Linked DNA regions of Homo sapiens: region 1 is linked to region 2. The links are contacts of gene promoters, found by promoter capture Hi-C in human tissues and cell types (Jung and others, 2019). All regions are on one chromosome and are shown on one strand. The core of a region is centred on a gene start or on the middle of the fragment in contact, and the rest is flanking DNA. Distances in the headings are between cores, read along the strand shown.

Evidence for each region. The method cuts DNA at HindIII sites, captures the fragments that hold promoters and counts their contacts. A contact is called where the count stands out against the background at its distance.
Region 1: a fragment that was not itself captured here is called in contact with the fragment with the promoter of TMEM108 in region 2 in 2 of the 25 tissues and cell types used here (pancreas and psoas muscle).

What each region holds. Positions count from the first base shown.
Region 1 is chr3:133,089,528-133,092,227 of GRCh38, reverse strand. The region is part of intron 2 of TMEM108 (transmembrane protein 108); the gene reads right to left. Among named protein-coding and RNA genes, the nearest start is that of TMEM108, 52 kb to the right of the region's middle. The HindIII fragment of the contact is 4,180 bases long and covers 1-2,700 here.
Region 2 is chr3:133,037,122-133,039,821 of GRCh38, reverse strand. It overlaps TMEM108 (transmembrane protein 108), which reads right to left and starts at 1,431. Exons shown (of 6, transcript NM_023943.4): 1 at 1,387-1,431. RefSeq lists an enhancer at 1,443-1,737. The HindIII fragment of the contact is 13,936 bases long and covers 1-2,700 here.

The DNA.
Region 1 (2,700 bases), core at 129-2,628, 52 kb before region 2:
TGTATCTGGAATGAAGTTGACTTCTATGTATTACTAAACTGTTTATAAAATCAAGGCTCAAATGATGGGTTGTTTCCTCTTGACTACCATCTCTACCATTTCAATAGGTATCAGAGAAGAGTGCCTCAGTTTAGCAGAAGAGGAAAAGCTGTCGTCTTCCTCCCAAGACATGCCTTGCAATTTGGAAGCTCCAAGTACTACTGAAGTCATCATACTTTATAGACTCAGCATCTTATTAGACAGGGACAAACTAGTTGATGATTAGCAAGAGTAGATACCAAATAATGCGTTTTCTCTGAGAGGCTCAAAACAATCATGATACATTCATGCTCTTATGCTACCATGATGGTTTGGGTTTTGTTTTTTTTTTATAAGAAGTCTCTCAAATCAGAGAAATATTTCTTCATCAGTTCATTTTCTGCCTTTAGTCAAAGCCTAATCAAATGAGGCTGGGAGAGGCAATACTTTACATTTCTCTACTGCCTCTTCTAGCCTCGTTTGATTAGGTTTTGCCTAATGGCAGAAAAATGAACTTGATAACCTCTCACAGTCTTCCCTAGGCCAAAGTATTTGAATAAGTAGCTGGTGAATAAGTAGAGTGGTATTTAACTTCTTTAATGACAAATGCAAAGTTTTCAAGTATGATACTAATTAATTTGTAAATTCCTGATAAGAAAAATTATCCCACCCATCACATGGTTTCCTTAGCAGCTTACTAAACCATATTATGCATCATAATCAATAAATGTCAGGGGAAGAATAAATAAGAAACAGAAAGTTATGACAGATGTGCATTAAGTAGACATAAAAGCCACTGATCTAGTCAACAAGTCCATAAGAATAGCTGTCCCTTGGCCTGGTTTGTGGTTAGTTACAATCTATTATTGCCCCATAATTCACACTCACTGGGGAAGCCTACCTGAACAGAAGATCCCTGTAAAGAGGATCTAGAGTACAGAAAAAGCCAGGACAATAATAAATACAAGTAACAAATATATGGAAAAGTTCAATTTCTCAGGTAATCAAAGATATACAAATTAAAATAAGATACCATGTTTTATCTAAGAATCTAGGAAATATTTTTAACAGTAACAGTGTCAGTAGACTACATTGAAATAGATACTCTCATGTACTTCTACAGGAATTACAAATTGGAATCAGCTTTTTGGAAGTATTCTGGCAATGTTTATTAAAAATGTATATATTTAACCCAATAGTTTTACTTACAGTGATTTACCCTAAAAATTCACAAATATTAATCTAATGTGCAAGGATGATCATCACTTTTATAAAAGTAAAAAACAGCAGATAACTATCATTTAACAAAAGCAGTATGTTAATAAATTCTGGGAGCTCCATATAATAGAATACTTTCAAGTTCTCTAAGAATATTTAGTGACATAGTAAATTATAAGATGTGTGAAAATGTAAGATATATGTCCTTAAATTCAGTATGATCTTAATTTTATAAAATAAAAATATATCCCTATATGCATGTAAATTATACCGGAAGGAAAAACTCCAAACTGCTAACCAATGAGTTTCTGTGGATGCTGACTGCATGGGAGATTGCCCCACTCTTAAAAATGCGCCTTTGAAATTTCTTACGATAATTCTTAAGAGAATGGTAGTGCATTGACTTCTCAAGCTTTACTTGGCAATATATGAATATATTATTTCTTTATAGTAATGCGAAATGACTTACTGATGCTTACTGATGGCTTTGTCCCAAAAGTGTCTGCCTACAGCTGAGATGGGAAAGAATCCTAAAGATACAAGGGCCTCACGCCCCTATTACTTAATCCCAACAATACAGCAGCTATGTAATAGTTCCCTTTTAAATTAAATGGGAGGAAAAAGACTCCTGAAGAATTGTTATGTTTATCAAGCAATAAGAATGACATCACTGCCTTGAAATGCCAGAGAGTTCAAGAAATGCTCCCTGATGACCTTTTGCTTGGTTCCAGGTGTTTTGTATGAAAGATTTCAGGGAAGTTTTTTGTTTCGTTTTAATGGGAAAGACTACAGATCCTACAGTGACAATCTACATGTTTTTAAAACAATGATCTCTCTCTCAGGTAATGATTCATTTTGTACTTAGGCACTGGCCACAAAGTTTCCAGGGTTTCAGTAACATGCCTCTAAAACCCACTGGCCACCACCTTCCATTGTTAAGGTGTTCTTCATGCTTGCTGGTCTCATTTTAATCTACAACCTATGTTCAACCCACAGGGCTGACAGAGTAAGAACTTGCCTTTAAATTCCAGTAGCTGAGCCCTTCATTTTTGCATAGTTTGATTCAGGAATAAATTCTACATATTAAACACATGCTAAATTGACATTTAATTGAACTTGAAACTCTTACAAATGCTGATATACAGCCAGCAAACAAATCTATTTGCTGTCTATTCAAGATAGTCAGACCTGCCTTCAGCAGGTCAGTTTATGAATGAACTAGGTTTTCAACCAGACCATTAGCATTTTTTCCTAAGAATCAGAAAACAAGAGATAGCTTGCACCTCTGAACCATGCAGCCTGGTATTAATCTGGGATTATAGAAGGTAGACAATCATTAAGCCAACCTTTTTCCTGCTCCCAAACATCTTTTCTCCTCTCTGTCCTTGTCAAGTTCACTGTTTCTTCAGTTACTATTTATATGAAGTGACAACCTATAATTGGTGTCACTAGACTCACCTGCCC
Region 2 (2,700 bases), core at 182-2,681:
TAAAGGGCTTTGAAGGTATCAGGATGTCTCCAAGGGACAAGGTAGAGAGACCCTTATCCATCTCATACCAGAAAGAGTTCTGAATAAATTACGTGGAAAGTCCAGAACACAGTAATATCTTCATAATGAGTTAGTTGAACCATTTCTTACAGAGTAGATTACCAGGTGTATCCAACAAATCAAGAAGTTAACCCGTGGAAAATTGAAGGGACTTTTTATGTTTGCCTATGAGCTGTCTGGGGAAATGGAGGAGAGGCAGGGAATACTTTCCATAGCTTGACCTGCTCTTAAGTTCCTGGACATACCTTCCCCTTTTTAAAGTATGATTTAAAGGCAACAATCCATCTCCCCCGGACTCCCATACAAACCTCTTTTGGCAGCCAAATGGTCTTCATCGAGCACACACTTTTCAAAGAATTAAGGACGTGTGAGTAGGTTTAGTTTAGACCCTGCCTTCCCTCTCCCCACAACCCAGTAACATGCTGAAAATAAGTAATAACCTTCCTGGGTACCCCCAGAAAAACCTGTTTGCAGAAACTACAACCTTTCCTCCGAAAAAAACCCCTATCTTCTTAAGGAAGAATCTCAGTGTGGTGGTCTGCAGTTCACTGCAGGCATTTCCCTCCTCACCATTTACCAGTCATCAGTTACGCTGCATCTGAAATTGGTTTTTGTAGACTTTCATTTAGACCGGCTCCACCGGTGCCCAACTGCTTAAAAAAAAAAATAGCCCCTGAACCAATCTCTGGATTCCTCCAGCAGGCTCAAAGCGTTCAATTTCGCTGCAACTCTGGGGTGAAAACCGCCAGGTCCAGCCGGCAGAGCAACCTCCCGGGCAGCACGGAGGCTCCGTCCCCGGCGAGGCCGCCGGCACCTAGGCAGGAGGGCTCTTCGCACAGCTGCGCTAGGAATTCGGCTCCGCTCGCGGCCGCAGGATTAGTTCGAGTCCCTCGGGCTGGCCAAAGTGACACTACATTTCTTCTTCTTCGTTTCCCCATGTGACAGGTCCCCCTGCATTAAAGCCACCTCCTCCTCGGCCCCAGCCCAGGTCCAGCGCTCCTGACGCCCGCGCCCCATCACCCGCACCCTCCACCTGGGGAGGGGGTTCATGCCAGCAACCCTCCAGGCGGGAAACAAAGGCGGAGGCAGGGCTGCCAGGTGGGCAACTCCCCTCGGGCAGACCCGTCACGCAGTGGGGAGGATGGGAAGGTGCCTGAGAGGATAGGAAAAGGGAAACCAAGGCAACCGGGGCTGCATCCTCCCTGAAGCTGGGCTCCCGGGGCAAGCTGACCCCACACCTCCCCGAGCCCCGCCCAGCCCAGCCTAACCCGCTTGCCGGGACCCAGCATGGGAAGGACTGGGGGGACGCCCCGGAGCGCCGCTTACCTCGGGAGAAGCGCTCCGGCTCCCTCCGACGGCTCAGGAGAAAGCCCCACCGCTCGCGCACGCGCTCTCGCGCACTCGCGCCTTCGCCCCTCGGGCCCCCGCGCGCGCCCCTCCGACCAGGCTCTGGCCCGCCCCGGCCTTGTCCGTCAGCGTCCGCGACAGCCAATCCGGTCGCACGGAAGGCTCAGCGCCGGTCACGTGGTGAGACCAGCCAATCACCAAATTGCCCTCGGCAGCGCCCGCTCCGATGTCTCTGGGGGTTCGGTTGCTACCTAGCAGAGCGGGTGCGAGGCGGGCACAAAGGGTCTCTGTTTTCGGGGGCTAAGTGGCACTCAGTTGATCAATTACCAGATCAATTGACTTCTCAAATTCTAATATAAATAAGAATCACTTGACTCTCTTGTTAAAATGCGGATTCTGATCCAGAAGGTCTGGGGTGGAGACCTGAGATCCTGCATTTCTAATAAGCTCCCAGGTGGCGATGACGAAGCTCTTGGTCGGAGGATCACGCTTTGAATTGCACCTGTCCGAAAGTAATGGCTGTAGCCCCAGCTCCACGTAATTTGAAACTTGCACGACCTTTCTTGTCCTTCTTCCACTGATGAGAAGCGTTCCTGTGGCTACATGGGGTGTCCCGGTGATGCTTACAGTTTGGGCACCAGCTGAGGGAAGGTGTGTTTAATCCCCACATTACCCACCCTTGGTCTATGGAGCAGCAATCATGCCAACTTGGTGACTGGAGTGTGGAACCAGAAGTGGAGACGGAATGGCCATGGAAGAGAACACTGTGTCTACGTTAATCCTAAAGGGTTGGGCGTGTGTGTCTGAGTGGCGCGGTGCCAGACACTTGGCCAGAGAAGTGGTATAAGTGGTCCCTGCTTCTCAAAACGTAACAATTTGTTGTAGAACTATACAGGCTAGTTCAGAAAGAAGCATGTGGAGAAAACATCCGGGAAGCTAACAGTCACAGCACAAATTCAGGCATAAGCTAAAGAGGTTGTAAAATAATATGCCTTGAGGGTCTTAAAAACTGTCCAAATATTCTTCTGTCAGTAATTCCAGAGTCTAGAAGTTAGGACTCCCACTGGCCCTGTCATTTCTCAAATTTGACCTAAGGACTCAGTGTTTTCGGACTGGCCAGCTAGAACCTTTGTCGTTCAGCGTAGCCAAGCTCTTATTACCCAGTAGTGTACCGCCGTGGTTCAAGATTCTTAAGTGCTGAATTCTCCAAAACCTTCATCTCTCATCTCTTGAAACCAGGTGGTATAACCCTGCTTCAGCATTTCTCTCTCACTATCAAGGTGATCAAACTGT